Linked DNA regions of Homo sapiens: all the other regions are linked to region 3. Evidence: promoter capture Hi-C in 16 types of primary human blood cells and fetal thymus (Javierre and others, 2016). All regions are on one chromosome and are shown on one strand. The core of a region is centred on a gene start or on the middle of the fragment in contact, and the rest is flanking DNA. Distances in the headings are between cores, read along the strand shown. Region 1 overlaps HIF1A (hypoxia inducible factor 1 subunit alpha). Region 2 overlaps HIF1A-AS1 (HIF1A antisense RNA 1). Region 3 holds the start of PRKCH (protein kinase C eta). Region 4 has its middle 13 kb from the start of SYT16. Region 5 overlaps HIF1A (hypoxia inducible factor 1 subunit alpha).

Region 1 (4,400 bases), core at 276-2,775, 380 kb after region 3:
TAAGAGGGGAAAATGTAGTCATTGGCTAACACAATCTAATTTTGGTTTAAGAGACAAATCTAGAGTCTCAAATGATCTCAGAGTGTAATAATCCCTGACTTTTGTCTTGATATTACTTGGCTTGTATACCTTTGCTCTATTTGCATGCTGGCCTTACTCTGCCACTGACAGGCTGTCTGTATGGTGTGGAAGAGGACGGCTAGCATCCCCATACCTGCATCCATACAGTTTGTAATATAAAAAAAAAAAAAGTAAAAAAAACTCCCTCTCTCTTCTAGTGTCTATATATCAGTTTCCTAGAAGAAAACGTTTTGCCCTACTTGGCCATGTGAATGGAGTTCCCTGATTACATGAGTCAAATATGTCTTATTGTAGCATATTTGATGGTCTTCTTGTAGAATATTATCTTACTATACACAGAACTCTTGACCAGTAATTAATGGGCCATGAGTTTTTGTTGCAAGTCATTTGAATTCATATTCTATAGTTTTCTACCAAGTGTAGTCATTCTGCAAGCTGTTCTTGTCATGACTTTTGGGAAGTTGAGTATTTCTTCTATGGGTTAGGGTTTTCATCTCAAGAAAAAGATGATCCTTTTCTCTACTAAATATGTGTTAAGATCACACATTTTTCTAGATCGTTTAGCTCTACTGTGTGATCTTACACAAATTGCTTTATTGGGATGATAAGAATAATTGCCTTATAGGATTGTTATGAGAATGAAATGATACATCAACTCATATGAAACACTCAGAACAGCTCTTGGCACAAAGTAAGGGCTTAATTAAGTAGAAACTATCCATATATTCATAATATTATAGTATTGGTTAAGTTGTTTTCAACATTGTTTAGAATCGCTCAAGCCTTCTTTGTGATAATCTGACGAAGGCTATTCACCACCAGTGAGTAAATAATAGTGGCAGAATAGTTACTGATGCTTTTCCTTTACTTGGTTTTTTTTCCATAAACATCTGGCCTTTGCAGACTAAATACTGGTTTATGTATAGACATGTTATTCTAAAATAATTTTCCATAGTGGTAATACTAAAGGAAGAAAAATGTTCTCAAAGCTATTTATTTGGGATGTTAAAGGAGGGGGAAATTAAGAAAGCCTACATTTCCATGTCCTTTGTGTCCAGAATCTCATTAAATGTCTTTTAACTTGTTAGCAGAGGAAAGTTGGATATTGCCTGCCTTTGTAGCTAACATAGTTAAAATATTTAAATGGTTATAGTGTCAAACCAGTAGTCAAAGCCTTCACTGTGAATGGATGAAGGGATATTTTCTTGAATAATTTAAGTTGACTTATTTCAGTGGTTCAAAAAATTTCTTCAACGCTTAACCATGACTCAGGCACCTAACTATTATACTATGTCCTGTAACAGATTGTTGTGCATTCATTTATTCAACAGGTATTTGTGCAGCTAATTTATTGAGTACAGCATTGAATCGTTGATGGCTTAGGCCACAGTTGAACATTCCATTTTTTATGTTCATTCATTCATTCATAGCATATTCCATTTTTAAATTTTCAGTTCATTGCACTTTAAAGTTTGAGGTTCTTGCGAAGTACAGACTTTTGGGTTTAAGTTTTGTTATTTAATGTCAACCACCACAGGCGCATTGGCCAGTCTGCTTTTAGAATTTTCAGACATACATACACAAAACATTCTCACAAGACAATCTACTTATTTTCTTTTTTATTCCTGTGTTTCTTAACACAGGATTAATGTTCAGATCTCTTTTGGAGCAAAATAATCCTCTGAATTTTTGAGATGTACCCAGTGACCTCAGTCTGAGTATGTATACTGCATTAAAAAATGTAACCTTGTTCCTTTTAGTGGTCATTTGGTAACAGTTTGATCATAAACAAATGCAGCCTCAAACACAGAAGGCTTGAGGCAAGTATACAGAACTATGGAGAGATCATTTAGATGATGTAGAATATGCCTTTTCTTTTTTTACAATGCCACCAAAATGAAAACACGGTTTTAAAAATTCTCATAGAGTGTAACTTCAACACTGCTTTAACTCTATTAAACAAAGCACTGCCATGTTGTAATTCCTATTTATTACTCTCTGGAGTTGTATAAATTACCAAATCCGCCTTTTGTTTGATATCCTTTTCAAATATCTGAGGGTAGCTATCATGTTTCTTCCTTCTATTCTTAAAAAATAGTCCCAAATTTCTTGAATCTTTTAATTTAAAAATTATATATTGAGCATCTGATTTGTGGAAAGGCATAGGCCATATTAAAAATGGGGCTTCATATTAAAATGGGGAAAAGGGTGGAGATTCTCAGGTGGAATCTGAGATCTGCCACACACTAATAGTGTTACCTAACCCTTTTTAAAGACAAAGAAACAGGATCAGAAGGTCACTTTGGAAAATTTATTTGGTAATATTGGATAGGATGGATTAGTATAGTTGGAAAACAGAGACTCTTGCTTTAGGAGAGCTGCTCCTTTGTCATTTCCAGAATCTTAATCATGGTCAAGGTTTAGAGCTAAATATTTAATAGAAGAAGTCTTTAGGGTATGCTTTCTATTGTACACCCTTATTTCAATACATGTGTTTTTTCCTGTTATGTAAGTACTTTATTATTATTTATGCATCTTCTATTAAAGTTAAGCAAATAATTATTTCAAGGACACATTCTTCTACATACACACAAAGTTTAGGGTCACTGACCTTCTTAGGTTCTAGTCTTAGATCTGTTACCATCTAAGAGCATATAAATAAGGGAAACAGAAAGAAAAGGATTTACAAGCTGAGAAGGAAGCAATGCAGAGAAAGAAGAGTGATAGAGTAGGTAATTTGGGGAAAGTCAGTGATACACAGCTCTTAACCATGAACAGTGATTCTTCACTCTTGAATGTTTGTGACATTCATGAAGGTATTAAAAGCTGACTTTTAAAAAATTGTTTCAGAGAACTGGAAAAAAATTCAGTTGCCACATTCTTCCTTAGGTCATCTTTGAACTCTACTCATGCACTTACGTGTTTAAGGCAAAGTTTTACTAAACGCACACTTGTTCTTGCTGGCTTATTGACTTTTACTGCTAGCTTCTTATTCTTAGCAATTATACCTCACATTACATAGTATTGTGAAACTCACTATATTCAGTGTTTTGCCTGACAAACATGGTATGTTATAGGATGTGTATTCAGTTATAGCTAAAAATAAATTATTCTCGTTTTTCAAAATTTGCTGGCCTACCTGTTAAGCTTTTGCTTTAAGACCTGCTAATGTTTCTCAAACTTCTGTGGTTAAATCACCTGAGTGTCTAGTTGCTCTATGGATTCCCAGGGACCCATTCGCCAGAGATTCTGATTTGGTAATTTTGGGATGGAACTCAGGGATCTGTAAATTTTACAAGCACTCAGAAATGAAACATAGACTTTAAACAGCTAAGAGTGCTCATCAGGATTATGTTGATATTATTTTTTAAACAGATGTGCCAAGCCTTTAATTTGAATTTCCAGGGTTGGGATTTGGCCTTCTATATTTGGGGGAAAAAAGTTCTATTGATGATTGTGGATATATACCACAGGTCAACCATTGAATAGTCTAGTCAGTGTAGTTAGTGTATTTTATAATTACTAAGTTCTAAGTATGTGGTGTATTAATGTCTTAGGAGGTGGATATATTTCCTGTATTTGTAAAGCATTTGGGTAGGTTTTTTAAAGAGAAAAGTATGTAACAAACTAGTTTTGAGCGTTGCTCTTTTACTTCTTTGGGCATTTTTGAAGAACACGTTAAGTATCTTCTTAGAGCAGAGGGGCTCAGAGTGGTCCCCAGATTATCATCATTGGTAACACCTAGTTGGTGCATTACTAACTTGTTAGAAATGCACATTCTCAGGCGCCATTCAGACTTCATAAATCAGAAACTCTGGAAGTAAGGCTCAGCATTCTGTGTTTTTTTTTTCTTTATTATACTTTAAGTTTTAGGGTACATGTGCACAACGTGCAGGTTAGTTACATATGTATACATGTGCCATGTTGGTGTGCTGCACCCAGTAACTCGTCATTTAACATTAGGTATATCTCCTAATGCTATCCCTCCCCGCTCCCCCCACCCCACAACAGGCCCCGGCGTGTGATGTTCCCCTTCCTGTGTCCATGTGTTCTCATTGTTCAGTTCCTACCTATGAGTGAGAACACGCGGTGTTTGGTTTTTTGTCCTTGCGATAGTTTGCTGAGAATGATGGTTTCCGGCTTCATCCATGTCCCTACAAAGGACATGAACTCATCCTTTTTTATGGCTGAATAGTATTCCATGGTGTATATGTGCCACATTTTCTTAATCCAGTCTATCATTATTGGACATTTGGGTTGGTTCCAAGTCTTTGCTATTGTGAATAGTGCCACAATAAACATACGTGTGCATGTGTCTT
Region 2 (4,082 bases), core at 1,250-3,749, 360 kb after region 3:
TAAAACCAACAAAAAACCCAGAACTGCTCTTCAATCCCTTAGCTTTTGTTGCTAAATCCAATTCACACCAGGCTTTTTCCCTATAGGGCAAATTGTCTGTGAGATTCAGCTGGTTTTTTTTGTTCTATTTTGCTCTCATTAGATTCTTCATTATCTAAAAGTTCCTGTGTATGCTTGAGATCCAATTATTGATGCTATCCCAGTTATTTTCCCAAAAGGCTTATCAGCAACCTTATAAATCAAATCAAATGGAATAGATGTACATGGAAAGGAAGGTGCCTATTTCTGTCCCCATAGCTGTATTGGAATCTTAGTTTTGGCCAACCCAGAAATGCCCTATTATATTTTCAAAATAAATATTTGTAAAATATTTTACTAGGCAACTTAATATATATTTAAAAGGAAAAAAACTAAAACAGGATTCTGGAGATTTGAATCCTAGTCTTATCACTAATTTTCTTTGTAAACTCCTGCCATAAACCTATTTCTTAGTGCAATGTATTAAATAGTTTTGCATGGTGGCTTTGAAAATCAAATAAGGAGATGGATGCAAATGCACTTTGAAAATATTAAATGTTCAATTCAAATGTGAAGAATTCTTATCTTTGTAATACTTAACAAAAATTTGGTCTTTGACTCTAATTGTCCACCTATTTAGTTATAATACTCACTCTACGTTTCTCAGTCTTAATTTTCTTTTTTTTTTTTGAGACAGAGTCTCACTCTGTCGCCCAGGCTGGAGTGCAGTGGCATGATCTTGGCTCACTGCAAGCTCCGCCTTCTGGGTTCACGCGACTCTCCTGCCTCAGCGTCCTGAGTAGCTGGGACTACAGGTGCCCGCCACCACGCCTGGCTAATTTTTTTGTATTTTTAGTAGAGATGGGGTTTCACCGTGTTAGTCAGGATGGTCTTGATCTCCTGATCTCGTGATCCACCCGCCTCGGCCTCCCAAAGTGCTGGGATTACAGGCTTGAGCTACCATGCCTGGCCTCTCAGTCTTAATTTTCTAAGGACTGTGTAAAATAAATTATTTTAAAGGAGCTTTGTCATAAAATGTTAGAGCTAGAAGAGAATTGGAGATCATATGCTCAAATCCCTTATTTTAGGATGAAAAAAGTGAAGCATAAAGAAGGAAGTGTTATCAGAATTGTGGATGGTGGAACAGGTCAAGAACTCAAGATCCTGATCCATAAATAGCAATCACTTCACCACATCCTAAAAGACTGTCCTCAAGGATACTAATTCTCCCTTTTCTGGGATTAGTTAACACAGCAATTATCCAACATGGGTTTCACTGAGCTTCCAAGTAAGCTATTTATTTATTCACACCATTCCTTATTTCCAGAGCTTCTACACACCAGTGCTCCTGGAACTCTTTTTAGGGCAGCAACAAAATGATATTTATTGAGCTCCTTTGCTGTGTTATGCACAGAAGGTACTGCAGATATAGCATTTAATAAGACAGACAAATTACTGCCATAATAGAGCATATATTTTACCAAAATACTGACCATAAAAGTAACATATGTATTAAAATAAAAGTAAGTTATTCTCCCAAGCTTATAGGACACACAGCTAATGTTCTTCTTGATAGTGTATTTCTTTAGTTGGAAGGCTAATGGAACATTTCTTCTCCCTAGTGGACCAACATTCAAGTTTCAGGTTTCCTAGAGGTAGTTTCCAAGTCCTTAAGCCATTTAAGAATATGTCTATGGATGCCCACATGCATTATGAGAAATACCTGTATGTCTCAGTTATCTTCCTCAGACTCAATGACACATGTATTTTTGCTAATACTCTCAGCGGCATTCATCCCCTAAACATGGAACAGCCCTTGCTAGGGCAGGAAAGAGCAAGGAACACATTTTTAACATCTGGGTCTGGCCATTTCATTTTTCCTCTGCGTTCTGGAGCGGGGATAATTCATTCAGCTATTTTATCTTCCTGAATTTTCCTCCTTTTCGCCAGCTGACAGTTAACTGCTATATATATTCTTCTGGTTGGGGTACTGGAAGCAGGGTGCGTAAAGTACCGAAGAATGGAGCTGGGATCCGGGAGTCAATGGGCCATAGGCAGAGACGAGATGAACAACCATAGGCTAAGGTGTAGATAAAATCCGGGTGATCAACCAATTGACAGTTGAACTGTAGTCTGGTGAGGATCGCATGAAGGAAAGGAACAGAAATTAGAAGAGCAATACAGTGAACAGGTGGTGAGCCTCTTTATGACAGTATCATTTCTAACAAACTTTATGGAGGTAAAATTTACATACAATAAAATAAGTCATTTTGTGTGAGCTTGATTTAAGATATGCATACATTCATGTATCCACCACTACACCAATATAATATAATAGTGTTTTAGGGTGGACTTCTGTTATTCCAAGGCATAGTTTTCTCAGCTTATTTCCTCCCACAGTTCCTCAGATAGCCAAGCACTGGGATTTGTCTTTGCTCCAGCAGCAAGTATCAATGAAGTATCAATAGCAACAAGATCTTGAGGCAAGCAAACTCTTGTTCCTGAACCGAGTTGCAATAGATCTCGCTAAGAGGATCTGGAACAGGGCTTGGAGAATGTCTGTGCAGCAAAATCAGAAAATGTTCTGTTTGCCTGGTCACATGGGGGATGTGGTAGAGACAGTCAGTTGAAGAATCCAGATGCTTGTCTGTCTAAACACAGATACAACCCACTGGATGGTCTTCCTTTTGTCTCTTATGATCCTAGAAGAGCAGACAAAAAGTGAGGGGCGGAGGTATAGTCAGGACCAGAAAGTGTTGGTCCAGGTAACGTTAGAGGGTGTCTGCAATTCCCAAGATCCACCCCAAAACTTGGCACATTGTACCTATTTAATATCATGATCCCTGTAATAAGATAATCCTGTGAAGTTCTGGCTTACTTGATACTGCCATGTAATTTACACTCACACAAGAGAGTAGCTAACCTGTCTTTGCAAGTCCAGGTATAAAATTAATCAACTTCTTGTGACTGCTTCTGCTTCTTCGTAGACAAGTTCTGACACACTTAACCAAAGGAAACTTTATAAGTTTTCCAATATAAGAGCCAAACAGCTAATGTTCCTTCATTACCCACAAAAAAAAATCAAAGGGAAAACATTATCCACCCAAAATTTGGAAAATATGAATTGCCAGTGGCTTAGGGCACATGGGAAGAAAACCAAGTTAGGATAAATATTAAGCTATGTATGATCCTTCTTTCTTTTCTGCTGTAATTCTTCCATTACAGTTTTTCATTTTAAAATAGTAAAAATCCTCAAATAAAAAAGATACAACTTGTAGTGAAAATTAACAGTTAGGGGAAAAAATAACTTTTAAATGCCACGTTCACTGGCATTTTCAATGTTTTGATAGCGTTTTTCTTCCTGATAGAAACCACAGTTGTTTTTGGGAGAATGACTGTGTCACAATAGCTTATAGAAGTAAAAGCTTGTGTCCTAAGATTTATTTTGAGATTCTCTCACCTACTCTCCATCACCTGACTGCCTGTATTATTATTATACGAGAAAAAGAGTTTTCTTCGTAGCATTGAAACAAAATAGGATGGAAATGCACAAAAATTCTGGAAGATTCACCAATTAACAAGAGTTATTGTTCAGCAGTGTTTTGGCAGAAGTTCAGCAGACTGTATATAGAACTTGAAGATGTTTCTCCTGTAGAGACATATGAACACATTTAAATTTTGGCCCCAAATAAAAAAATAACTATATAATATTAATTCATGTCATGGTAGCTTGGTCAAAATCTAGCAGGTGAATTCTATAGTAGAAGAATTCTTAGATTCATTGGCTATTTTTCACCCTTTGCTTTCATAAAAACCAGATATATCTAAGCTGGTTTGAACTGGATTTTGAAATTGTTAGTCATTTACGATAAAGAGATATAGTGTCCTTGCTGCTGAAAAATGATGTATGAGATGCGAAATCATTGTAGTCACTCCATAGATAGTAAGGACAAAGGAAAGAAAAACCCTAATCTTCTAACTGGTTGGAATAGTGAATATAGGTGGAAAGTAATTTTCTCTATTTACCTCTCATTTAAGGTTGATAGCTTTCACAAACAGATAAG
Region 3 (4,286 bases), core at 904-3,403:
GCTGTCTGACCCACTGCTCTGTCACCATTGCCAATCCTGATAGGTACTGATAGGGTGAAGATGGAGTGTCTGGTATCGTCATATCCCAGTCCCAGGACAGCTGTGTGGCCACCTACCATTTGGGGACTGTTTTCTTTTTAAAATTTAAAAAAAAATTTAAAGTCTACACCCCATGATTCTGTATGGGGACTGTTTTCTTTTAGCCCCAAAGTCCAACAGGAGCAAATCCTTTAGTGGCTCTTAAAGCTAGAGTTCAGCTGTTTGGAGGAAAGGGTGACAGAGCTGACCCACAGGGTAGATGCGACATCTTCCCCTGGAGCACTAAGGCCAAACAGGAGCCCCCTGGACGTTTGGGAGCAGGCTTTACAAGCCCTGCCTAAAGCTAAGATGTCATTAGAGTGATGCGTTGCATCCCTGCCTTGTTCTCTAAGGAAGCTTTGGTGTTTTCAAGACAGGCCCTTTCCCCCCTGGCCCATTGTCCTTACTTGTTTTCATTCTGTATAGTGCTGTTATTACGGGTCAGGCCTCCTTGCACTCATGTGAAATCGTTGAGAACCTACTCAATTAGAAAGTTCTGAACAGGGCCTTAGAGGAGTGGGGGCTAGAAAGATGAACCTGGGGCCAGGCACGGGGGCTCATGCCTGTAATCTTAACACTTTAGGAGGCAGGGGCTGGAAGATCACTTGAACCTGGGAGCTGGAGGTTATGGTAAGCCATGATCACACCGCTGTATTCCAGCCTGGATGACAAAGCAAAACCCAGTCTCTAAAACATAAAAGAAAGAAAGGAGGGAAGGAAGAAAGAAAGGAATGAAAGCAAGCCGAATCTGCTCCGAGGGAACCAGTATAGCAAGACAGAATGTAATCAAGTATCTTAAGAGTGGCCTAGGCTTGGCTGGGTGCTGTGGCTCACGCCTGTAATCTCAGCACTTTGGGAGGCCGAGGCAGGCGAATCACTTGAGGTCGGGAGTTTGAGACCAGCCTGACCAACATGGAGAAACCCTGTCTCTACTAAAAATACAAAATTAGCCGGGCGTGGTGGCGCATGCCTGTAATTCCAGCTACTCGGGAGGCTGGGGCAGGTGAATCGCTCGAACCTGGGAGGCGGAGGTTGCGGTGAGCCGAGATGGCGCCATTGCACTCCAGCCTGGGCAACAAAAGCGAAACTCCGTCTCAAAAACAACAACAACAACAACAACAAAAAGTGGCCTAGGCTTTTTGGGGAACAAATTGGTTGTGGCTGGCCCTCAGGGAGCAAGCTTTGCGGCATAGCAGCGTAGGCTAAAAGGTCCTCCCCGGAGACAAAATCTGCAGGGACCACGGGGTGGGAAGCATCAGAAGGCTGCCCACTCTGACTGCAAATACAACAAGCTGGAGTGTTCCTAGAAGAGGCAATTTCTTCCGCGTGTGTGTTGGGGACAGCCTGTGTGTGTGAACATTTTCTGCCCTTGCCGCGCAGAGCTGGGTGGACCAGAAACCACCCGCAGAGGAAGAGACTTATTACCTCTTGGCCATGTCTGTCTCCAGAAGAACCGACCTTTCCTGCTCTATGTGCAACAAGACACACCTTCCGAGGAAGGAGGCGAACAGGATTTCCATCATTACTACTGCCCTATTAAAACACACACATACACACAACTGTGTAATTAGCCTCTGCAGGAAAGGCGCACAAACAGGATGCGTTCGAGCTGACCCCGGGATGAGCCATCCCTGTAAATATTAGGAAAAAGAACCTCCCCGCCGTGCCCCCGCCTCCGGCCAGGGCCTCTTGGGGATGGCCCTGCAGGGTCACCAGCCCACCGGGGAGGTTGGGAGAGAGGGGGCGGGCGACTCCTCGCCGCGCGGGTTCCTGGCTGGAGCGCCCTCCTCTGCGTCCTCCCAACCTTCCATCGCTCCCCAGGTCAGTCTACCACGCCTCAGGTGTTTGCTCGGGCTGGGCCACGAACCCTTTCCTTTTTGGCCTGCGCCCGGGGTGGCCCCTAACCCGCAGCGCACGGCCAGACCCAGCGCTACAAGGAGGGCGCGCAGGGCGGCGCAAGCGGGCACTGGCCTCCCGGGGGCTTGCGCGGGGATCCACCCACCGCAGGGCCGGGCCGCGGACCGCGGGCCACGCCCCTGGGGTCCGGAAGGCGCGGGAGCGGACGCGGGGGTTCTGTGAACTTGGAACCTGGCGGTGCGAGGTTCTCGCCGGGGATGCGGCGGCGGCAGCTGCTTCCTGGTTTGAAGCTCGCCGAGTGGGGGAGAGCGTGAGCCTTCGGAGGCGGGGGCAGGAGGAGAAGCAAGAGGAGGCGGGGGAAGAGACGCTTGGGGCTGGGGCTCACCGGACGGGTAGGTCCGGCTCTCCAGGGAGAGGAGCTGCCCGGCCCTGGAGAAGGGGCGAGTCCTGCGCGAGTCCCCGGGAGGCGCCGCGCGCTTGGAAGGGACGGTCGGGCTTCCCCGGCCCGCTGAGGGCTCGGCGGCGGGCTCCCCTCCTTTCCACCTCGGGAGGGAGGGAAGGAGGGGAGGGAAAAGTCCCACGGAGGAGGCAGAATGGCCAGTCGAGGGGCGCTTAGGCGCTGCCTTTCCCCAGGGCTGCCTCGACTCCTGCACCTGTCCCGAGGGCTGGCCTGAGACGGGACTCCCGGTTCTCCCGCTGCGAAGCAGCGCGGCCCCCCGGGGCCGGGGCAGCGGCGCCGGCATGTCGTCTGGCACCATGAAGTTCAATGGCTATTTGAGGGTCCGCATCGGTGAGGCAGTGGGGCTGCAGCCCACCCGCTGGTCCCTGCGCCACTCGCTCTTCAAGAAGGGCCACCAGCTGCTGGACCCCTATCTGACGGTGAGCGTGGACCAGGTGCGCGTGGGCCAGACCAGCACCAAGCAGAAGACCAACAAACCCACGTACAACGAGGAGTTTTGCGCTAACGTCACCGACGGCGGCCACCTCGAGTTGGCCGTCTTCCACGAGACGCCCCTGGGCTACGACCACTTCGTGGCCAACTGCACCCTGCAGTTCCAGGAGCTGCTGCGCACGACCGGCGCCTCGGACACCTTCGAGGGTTGGGTGAGTAGCGGTGACCCCTTCCCTTTGTGTCCACCCAACCCCCGTTCCCCTTATGTTTTTCAAAACTCACCCGGGTCCCGCTTTCCCATCGCTTTGTGGCTGAGGGAATTCCCTCCAGACTTTGGTCTTCGTCCACGTGGCCGCGGCACTGGTGACGCGACCGCGGTGGGTGTGTGCAGGCGCAGGTGTGTCTCCAGGAAGCCGGCCTGGACACGATCCCCTTTCAGGACAGCGGCTTGGCCTAACGGGAAGTCGGGCAGGGGTCCAGGGCGGTCACCCTTTCCGCCCAGTCTTTGGGTAAGGAGCTCCAACTTTCAGCACGAGAGTGATAGGTAGGAAAGGCAGGGAAGGAGTGATACAAAAGGGACTTGATTTGGGTAAAGTGCTTCAAGCGCTACTTAGGAGAAAGCCGTACATTCTCGCGAGTATTATTCATAATGTTTATGGATACATGTTGGTTCAGCCGCTCAGACGTGCACACGTGTTTCGGCTTGCACATCCCAGAGGTACATGAGCTACACTGGCAGGGAAATGAGCGCCTGGGTCTGCACGTTGGCAGTTTTATTATTTAGCATTTTTCCAAGGAGATGAGATTTACATATACTTGCAAGTAACTTAGTCAGTCCGAGGTGGGAGTCCTGCAGTGTGGGTTTCTGCTGCTATGGGTCTGAGAAGAGGCTGTAAGGACTCCTCAGGAGGTTGTTAACTGTCTTCCCTCCCCCCATCACCAGCCTGTGTTCCTGGGTATTGACGTGTAGCTACCCGCAGCTCTCCCCTTGCCTCTGCTTTTCACATAGTTCCCAGGAGGCATAATTTCTGCTGTAAATCAATTAAAACTTCTAGAGCGCTCTACACGGTGCTAACATGCTTTTACTGCCTAATCCTCACACTGTCTTTGTGATGCAGGTGTCATCGTTCCCACTTTGAGATGATGGAATGATAATTATAATAAAGTAGTCTGGTTTGGCAAAGTGGAGTACGCCATTTGAAGACTCTCAGGAGTTTAATAGTTTAAGTTCTGGAGGGAGTCAGTTTTGAACCCAATATCAGTATTGAAAATGTTTGAAATTTACAAGTGGTGAAATCAGATGGATGGTGATGAAGGCTCATTTAGGTATTTATTTTATACTTTGTGGAATTAGTAATTTTACCGTATATTTTCTAAAATTAAAGATGGCTTGTGGAGCTATTCCTTTCTTTTAAATAGAAGTACAAAAACCATAATGACTAACCTTAATCGTCAAATT
Region 4 (4,293 bases), core at 633-3,132, 480 kb after region 3:
ATGCTTAATTAGGGGAATATTTTTCACTTTGGAAGTAAAGTATCCTAATTTCTTCAGAAGAAAACTACCCTGGGAATATGCAGTTCTCTATGAGAAATCATAGTGTCATCTTTGTTTTTTTTTTGTAGTACTATTATGAGTTTATGTTGTAAGCACATCCAAGATCCCATCTGGGTTTATAACCCCTTTGTCTTAATAACTCAAAGTTTTCCTAACTGTGAGTGGATATATTCAATGAGGAGAAACATTCCCAGTCTCTTTAATACCCAATTAAAGTGATTGTTCCCTGAGACAGACACAGTTGTACCATTTGCAAGCAAAAGGAAAGACAATGAACAAACTTTTGAGCAAAGGCTTTGTCTTATATAGGGATTTTTCAGAACAGCGATTTATTAGGGAACTACGTTAAAAACTTTAAAGTGCTACAAAACTATTTTACTGACTTGTTCAAAAATATTAAGAACTGCAGAGTGCTTTGGAAATGGAAATGCAAAGATATAAACGCTAAACTTCAAAATAATTACAGCTAAAAAGTAAGCTTTTAAAAAGTACTTGGATGCCAAGGAAACCAAAGTAATTGTGTGGTGACTTTTGAAGCGGCTTTTTAAAGTTATAATAATTGAAAGCTTATGTGTTTACACAGATCTTCAGATTGATATGAGACCAAGCTCTCATGGCTTGACAACTGAAGGAGACCCAGGTTTCTTTTTTTTAACTTGAATTGGCTACAATACATATTTTATTTCCAATAACCTATTTTGGTTATGACAAAAGATTTACACATGTATATAGAGATAAAATATCTTTAATTGCGGTATCTTTAAAAATGAGCTTTATGGGCTGGAAATTACTTTCATTTTGATGTAAAGAGCCCAGGAAAATAAGCATAATTACTAATGCCTTCCTAACTTACCCTTGATTCTTGAATTCTAGTTTAAAGAATGCTTGCTTTTTAAATGCCATTGAGCAAACTCTGTGGGTGCTTAAGTATTCACGTTTTCATTTTGAACACGTTTTCATTTCATCTTTTGAACAACTATAGAGTAATTTTCATTGCACATTTTTCTTATTCCCTTTATGAAAGTAAATGTCAAAGCCTCGACTTCGGGTTGTATAATTTTTTTTATGTGGTATTTTTTATGCCTGACTTATTTATTTTAATGTGCTGTATATTGCAGGTCTGAATTTTTCTTTTTATGATGAATTCGGGCTGCGTCCTTTAAGTTACAAGGAACAAAGTCACATTGACATTATCTTAAATGCTGGAGGCTTATTTTAATACTTGATCAGAGGCACAACTTCTTGGAGAGCTGGAAAAAAAATGTAGTGAACACCAGCAGCTTAGACGGCTGGGCTGAGTCCTTGCTTTTGAAGTGGATGTCTATTGCCCTGTAGTTACAATGTGCATCCTCTTATTCATGTGCTCTCCAGCTTCCCTGCCCACTTTCCCCTTTGCTACTTCTCTTGTTCTCTATAGTCCCTGAAAGAGGATCAGATTGATTCTATTAGTTATAATCCAAAATAGAGCTCCCTGATAGGGTGCAGATTATTCTGGCTACTGGCCTCCTTTTTTTTTTTTTTTTTTTTTTTTGAGATGGAGTTTCGTTCTTTCACCCAGTCTGGAGTGAAGAGCCGCAATCTTGGATCACTGCAACCTCCACCCCCCAGGTTCAAGTGATTCTCCTGCCTCAGCCTCCCAAGTAGCTGGGACTACAGGTATGTGCCACCACGCCCGGCTAATTTTTTTTTTTGTATTTTTAATAGAGACGGGGTTTCACCATGTTGGCCAGGCTGGTCCCAAACTCTTGACCTCAGGATCTACTCCTCTTGGCCTCCCCAAGTGCTAGGATTACAGGTGTGAGCCACCACACCCAGCCCCGCCTCCCTCCCCCACTTTTTTTGAGACAGAGTCTTGCTCTGTGGCCCAGGCTGGAGTGCAGTGGTGCCATCTCGGCTCACTGCAACCTCCACCTCCTGTGCTCAAGCAATTCTCCTGCCTCAACCTCCTGAATAGCTAGGATTACAGATGCGCACCACCACACCTGGCTAATTTTTGTATTTTTAGTAGAGATGGGGTTTCACCATGTTAGCCAGGCTGGTCTTGAACTCCTGACCTCAAGTGATCCGCCTGCCTTGGCCTCCCAAAGTGCTGGGATTACAGGTGTGAGCCACCACACCCGGCCTGGCCTCCCTTATGTCCAACTGAAAGGATGATGCCCCTTAACTAGGACATAGATCCCTGATACAATCAATTGTGGACAGTATAGAAGGGTCGTATACCTCAGGACAGGGCAAATTATGGGGAAGGACCCAACTCTGTCAGCTTTCTGCAGAAGGGGTTGTGAGTAGGGCAAGCCTGTAACATTTCATGGATTTGTCATTCTATTCATGGATTTGATGGAAATGATAATGATGGCAAACACAGTCGTAAATATTTTAACTTCATAATGTAAACAAGTAATGGCAAAAATGTTCACTTGGCTGGACATGGTGGCTAATGCCTGTAATCCCAGCACTTTGGGAGTCTGAGGCAGGTGGATCACCTGAGGTCCGGAGTTCAAGACCAGCCTGGCCAACATGGTGAAACCCTATCTGTACTAAAAACACAAAAATTAGCCGTGTGTGATGGCACGTGCATGTAGTCCCAGCTACTTGGGAGGCTGAAGTGGGAGAATCACTTGAACCAGGAGGTGGAGGCTGCAGTGAGCCAAGATTGCACCACTGCACTCCAGCCTGGGGGACAGAGTGAGACTTTATCTCAAAAAAAAAAAGAGAAAAGAAAAAAAAAAGTTCAGTTGATGCAGCATTGCACAGTGGAAGAGTATCAGACAGCGTGGATTTGCTCTGAGATTACAATCTGCATATGAGACGTAATAAAATCTACCTGTAAGTTAGGGATGGATATATCCCATTTTATCCTCTTCCATCCTTTGAGATATTGTCATCATATTTTACTGCTATGATATAAACCCCATCATACAGTTATATTCTTACTTTAAATAAAGGAAAAAATAGGAGAAAAAGCTGTTACATTTACCCACATGGGAACCTTATCCACTGCTCTTCATTCCTTCATGCAAATCTATGCTTTCACCTGGGACAATTTTCCCTCAGCCTGGAGACATTCTTTTAATTTATTGAAGCTTAGTTCTGTTGGAGATCAATTCTATCAGATTTTGTTTTTCTGAGTCTTTATTTAACCATTTTTGAAGGATATTTTTCCTGGATTTGAATTCTAGGTAGACACCTCTTTTCTTTCATCACGTTAAGGATTGTTGCATGTCTTCAGCCTTCATTGTTTCTGATGAGAAGTTTTCATTCTTACCCATTTTTTGGTATATAACACGCCCTTTTTCTCTGGCCACTTTTAAGTTTTTTTTTTTTTTTTTTTTTACTTTATTTTCAGCCATTTGCATGATGTGCCTAGTGCAGTTAATTTTTCCAGTATATTGTATATGTTTTTCTGTACTGGTCTCACTTGCTTCTCTTTCTAGGACTCCAATTACATGTCTGTTAACTGCTTAATACTGTCCCAAATGTTATTGTGGCTTCCTCCCACACCCCCAGTAATTTTTCTCTCCGTGCTTCAGATTGAATGATTTGACTTGTCTTCAAGTTCATGAATTATTTCTTCTTTTGTATTCAATCTGCTGTTAATCCCATTCAATAACTTTAATTTTAGATGTAGTATTTTTCAGTTCTAACATTTCTCCTTGGTTCTTCTTCATGGTTTTCATATCTGCACTGAAATGTCCCATTTCTTCACCAATTATAACATTTTTTGCTGTAGGTTTATACTATTTTATAGATACTATAAATTTATACTGTAGGTGCTATAAGTTTAGCAAATTTAGCTACCTTGAAGTGTTTGCTAGTTTCAACATTGGGGGCATCAGTATGTCTGTTTCCCCCAAAGAGTATATCTGTTTTTATTGACCGATTTATTTTTTTATTGACTGTGGTTTACATTTTCATGTTTCTTTCCCTGTCTACTAATATTTTATTGTATGATAATACATGTTAGGGACTCTGAATTCTATCACCTTCCTCTAAAGAGTGTTGAGTTTTGTTCTATAAGGCAGTTAAGTTATGACAGAGCATCTTATACTTAAAGGGGCTTGATTGTAGGCTTTGTCAGGGTGGATCTATTCAGCTTGATCCTTAGTTTTAGGGCAAATCCCTTAGTCCTGGAAGTGGTCCCTAAATCTAAGGTGTGGGCTTTTTGAAGTTTAATGGAAACCGTGAAGTGTTTGCCACATCACTCTATTCTTGCAAGACTTGAACTTTGAACTC
Region 5 (4,143 bases), core at 307-2,806, 400 kb after region 3:
TAGTCTTAATATAGTTTAAATGTATGTTTCGAACCAAATGTTCTTTTTTAAAGCACACAAACATTTTGAAATCATTACTAATGTGGTTAATGAATTATTGATGTTCCATTGGGAAACTAAAATGCAGATTTTTCTCTTTTAGAAATCAGGGACTATTGCAAAGCATCACATTTTAGTGATACACTGAGAGCCAGTGGTGTGTTTATACAAATAGTCCTATTTTCCAAATAAATTCTAGAAAAATGCTTTAGAATTTATAAATTATACAAAATATGACTTATTTTTAGAGAGTTTAAAATTTAGGTTTTTTTAATGGTTTGTTTTTGTTTGTTTGTTTTTTGTTTTTTTTTTCCTCATTAGGAAAACACTAGTACTTTTCAGTTACCTTGATTTTTAAATTAATCTGCAGGTCCCCATTCAAAGGCCTTGGGTTCCTTTCAAAGGTCAGTATAATTCAAGCTTAGTTTATGAAGGACTGAACATACCCAAAGGATTTTGCATGTGGATCTTTACTGCCACTACCACAACCATCAACACCTACACACACACGACACACACACATTCTCTCTCTCTCTCTCTCTCTCTCTCTCTCTCCCCCTCCCTCCCGCACTCCTTCCCTTCCCCCTCCTTTGCTCTCATGGCATCTTTTAAAAATATACTCTTAAATCCTTCCAGGGAGGGCAAATTCACTTCTTAATCTAAGTAAACCCAAATGGCATGCATCAGCACCAGGACTGCCCATCTTTCCTAGTTCCATTATTCATAGAGTATAGGCTGGAATTCATCTTGTTCCTCAAGAGTCCAGCATTTCTAGTTAACCATGCCTACATTTAAACTTACTCTCATTTCTTTTCTACTTTACAGTGTTTTTTCAATATACTAGCATTACAGTTTCCAGATTTGATTTCTCTCCTGTCTTATTTCCATCAGTTTTCAAGTCTATTAAGATTCTACCTCTTCATTTGTCTTTTGCCACCATTCTTTTCCCTCATACTCTACTGGCTCAGCCCTCTCATTACAGTCACCTAATTCTAACATATATATTGCTGCTAAGTTAATTTTCCTTAAGTTACTGATTGTGCTTTTTTAAAGCCCCTTGTTGAATATTTAGGCAGGACTCCATGTGGACATCCACAGCCCTCCGTGGTACAGCCCTAACCTTCCCTTCTAGCTTTGCCTTACTACTCTTCTACGTGTACTCTACATTGTGGACAAACTACTATATGCTGTTTTTCAAACATGTCCTATTTTTCCTACCTCTGTGCTTTTCATTCTCTTACTTCTCCTTGGAATACCCTTCTAACCCATCTCTACTTACTGACATTCTAATGTCTCTTTTTCTAAGCAAGACTTCTTGATTTCCCTTGACTAGAAATTATCTTCTAAGCTCTCCCTATCCTTCTTTAAAGCATTTTTATAAGTCTCAAGTACCAACTCTACATTGTGTTTTTGTTGACCTTACTATATCTACTACATTTTTAACTTCTTCAGGAAAGGTGGCGTATCTTACTCATCTTTGTATTGCCTACAATATCTAGTCCAGGTTCTGAATAATAAATATTTTTATATGTGTTCTGAAGCACACTGACCAATGAAGATAAGAAATCAAGAGGCTAGTTCCTTATTTTTTTTAATTTTTTTTTTTGAGACAGTGTCTCACTTTGTCACCCAGGCTGGAGTGCAGTGGCACAATCTCAGTTCACTACAACCTCTGCCTCCCGGGTTCAAGTGATTCTCACGCCTCAACCTCCCAAGTAGCTGGGATTATAGGCATGTGCCACCACACCTAGCTGATATTTATATTTTTAGTAGAGATGGGGTTTTGCCATGATGGCCAGCATGGTCTCAAACTTCTGTCCTCAAGTGATCTTCCTGCCTCAGCCTCCCAAAGTGCTGGGATTACAGGCATGAGGCATAAGCCACTGCGCCCAGCAAGATGCTCTTTTCTCAGTCACCTAAATATAATCTCATTTTTAGTTATAGAAGGTTTGAAATTGGAGTGAATAGACTTTACTTAATTCTGACTTTATTTCTGTAGCTTTTTTTTTTTGAGATGGATTCTCGCTCTATATCCCAGGTTGGAGTGCAGTGGCACAGTCTCAGCTCACTGCAACCTCTGCCTCCCACGTTCGAGTGATTCCCCTGCCTCAGTCTCCCAAGTAGCTGGGATTACAGGCACCCACTATCACACCCAGCTAATTTTTGTATTTTTAGTAGAGACAGGGTTTCACCATGTTGGCCAGGCCGGTTTCGAACTCCTGACCTCAAGTGATCCTCTTGCCTCAGCCTCCCAAAGTGCTGGGATTACAGGCATGAGCCACCGTGCCCTGCCTATTTCTGTAACTTTTGATAAGTCATTTGATCTGTTGTTGTTGTTTTCTCATAGTAACAAAGTAGAAGTAATTTTCTGCCTGCTTTACTAGATAAATTAAGGGGAAAAAAATAAGATACGTAAAAATGTTATTTGTTATTAAAAAGAAAGTTGTTATTTTAAAGGTTCTATAAAGACATAGAGTGCTTATTAGAAATTGAGCTAACACATTCAGGAAAGGATAGGAAGAGTTTGCTGAAGTTCTTTCTTTAGGGATTCTTGTGTACCGATAGCACAGTTAAAGAGCAAACTCATACCATTTTTATATTTCTGTGTATTTGACTAAGCTTACTGGCTTCAATGATTAACTGTTATCCCAAATATGGATTATCTTTCAGCCAACTCAGGGAATCACAGCTACTGAGTAGTGTGTGTCAGATCTCTTGGGTGTGCTGGAGTGAGTAAAAGGGGAATGAATTACTGTGTTCATGCTGAGACTTAATTGAACGGGTATTCAGTTGATCTAGGTGATGGGCACTTTGTTACTTTTATTGTAACAAATTTGTATATTTAGTTGCTTTAAAACTTTATTTCATGCTTTCATTAGGCCTTGTGAAAAAGGGTAAAGAACAAAACACACAGCGAAGCTTTTTTCTCAGAATGAAGTGTACCCTAACTAGCCGAGGAAGAACTATGAACATAAAGTCTGCAACATGGAAGGTAAGTGAAAATTATTTGTGATTGATTATACACTTTATTTATACATAGACATTGTAGTATTAAGATAACTTTAGAATTGTGAGGGAAGGTTTACAGTTCCATGGTGTTTGGTTATGTAACATTTATATCTTCAACTCATTTGCATGTGATCTCCAAAATGCAGAACCGTGTAGTAATTTGCCAATTTGAGGCACAAACTTAAATTACGTGAATTGTGGCACTGGTGTTCCAGGCTTAATCAGTTGGCTTTGCCAGCCACACAATATTTGAATCCTGATAGGGCTTAATTTTCTATTAATCATGGTTTTATATCTTTGTTCAATGTTGAAACATAGTCATCAGTGCAAGAAATAACTATCAAACAGCCATGATGATGAGATGAATGAAAAAGCAGCCTAGACTTTATACGAGGGGAATTTTTTAAAGAGTAATGTATAGGCCCTGGGCAGGAAGTAGGTCATAGGTGGTATCATAGGAAAAATGTTCATTGATTTTCAAAAACGTGATTAATCCACTAGTGACAGTAAATTTTATCAAAGCTTACTGGCCATGTCAGACTCAACTACTTATCTCTGCTTTTTTTTTCCCTAGCATTGTAAATATTTTTTTTAACTGCTTTGTTCTTCATACACAGGTATTGCACTGCACAGGCCACATTCACGTATATGATACCAACAGTAACCAACCTCAGTGTGGGTATAAGAAACCACCTATGACCTGCTTGGTGCTGATTTGTGAACCCATTCCTCACCCATCAAATATTGAAATTCCTTTAGATAGCAAGACTTTCCTCAGTCGACACAGCCTGGATATGAAATTTTCTTATTGTGATGAAAGGTAAATTAGATCTAAAATGTGAATTTGAAATTTTTAATTAGTCTACAGCATTACTGAATATTCACCATAGCAAAGATTCAGCGCTGGCCATGCATGGTGGCTCACACCTGTAATCCCAGCACTTTGGAAGGCTGAGGCAAGCGGGGGGTGGATCATCTGAGGTCAGGAGATTGAGACCAGCCTGGCCAATGTGGTGAAACCCCATCTCTACTAAAAAATACAAAAATTAGTGGGACGTGGTGGCAGGCACTACTCAGGAGGCTGAGGCAGGAGAA

What was found. The method cuts DNA at HindIII sites, captures the fragments that hold promoters and counts their contacts. A CHiCAGO score of 5 or more calls a contact.
Region 1: a contact is called between a fragment that was not itself captured here and the fragment with the promoter of PRKCH in region 3, in 6 of 17 cell types (non-activated CD4 T cells, total CD4 T cells, fetal thymus and 3 more). The highest score is 10.2, in non-activated CD4 T cells.
Region 2: a contact is called between a fragment that was not itself captured here and the fragment with the promoter of PRKCH in region 3, in 1 of 17 cell types (naive CD4 T cells). The highest score is 6.2, in naive CD4 T cells.
Region 4: a fragment that was not itself captured here is called in contact with the fragment with the promoter of PRKCH in region 3 in 2 of 17 cell types (activated CD4 T cells and non-activated CD4 T cells); the score reaches 6.9 in activated CD4 T cells.
Region 5: a fragment that was not itself captured here is called in contact with the fragment with the promoter of PRKCH in region 3 in 7 of 17 cell types (non-activated CD4 T cells, naive CD4 T cells, naive CD8 T cells and 4 more); the score reaches 15.6 in non-activated CD4 T cells.

The regions. Positions count from the first base shown.
Region 1 is chr14:61,703,384-61,707,783 of GRCh38, forward strand. The region is part of intron 1 of HIF1A (hypoxia inducible factor 1 subunit alpha); the gene reads left to right. Among named protein-coding and RNA genes, the nearest start is that of HIF1A-AS1, 9.8 kb to the left of the region's middle. The HindIII fragment of the contact is 3,401 bases long and covers 1-3,226 here.
Region 2 is chr14:61,679,425-61,683,506 of GRCh38, forward strand. HIF1A-AS1 (HIF1A antisense RNA 1) reads right to left here. Exons shown (of 2, transcript NR_047116.1): 2 at 1,617-2,151. Among named protein-coding and RNA genes, the nearest start is that of HIF1A, 14 kb to the right of the region's middle. The HindIII fragment of the contact is 1,884 bases long and covers 1,558-3,441 here.
Region 3 is chr14:61,319,426-61,323,711 of GRCh38, forward strand. PRKCH (protein kinase C eta) reads left to right here and starts at 2,154. Exons shown (of 14, transcript NM_006255.5): 1 at 2,154-3,039. The coding sequence starts at 2,677. It overlaps PRKCH-AS1 (PRKCH antisense RNA 1), which reads right to left and starts at 3,393. Exons shown (of 5, transcript NR_186042.1): 1 at 3,110-3,393. RefSeq lists silencers at 1,947-2,216, 2,367-2,536 and enhancers at 2,498-3,042, 3,043-3,586. The HindIII fragment of the contact is 5,451 bases long and covers 1,257-4,286 here.
Region 4 is chr14:61,797,935-61,802,227 of GRCh38, forward strand. No RefSeq gene overlaps it. Among named protein-coding and RNA genes, the nearest start is that of SYT16, 13 kb to the right of the region's middle. The HindIII fragment of the contact is 2,517 bases long and covers 625-3,141 here.
Region 5 is chr14:61,723,788-61,727,930 of GRCh38, forward strand. It overlaps HIF1A (hypoxia inducible factor 1 subunit alpha), which reads left to right. Exons shown (of 15, transcript NM_001530.4): 5 at 2,919-3,031; 6 at 3,666-3,868. All of the region lies in intron 1 of HIF1A-AS3 (HIF1A antisense RNA 3), which reads right to left. Among named protein-coding and RNA genes, the nearest start is that of HIF1A-AS2, 23 kb to the right of the region's middle. The HindIII fragment of the contact is 2,199 bases long and covers 458-2,656 here.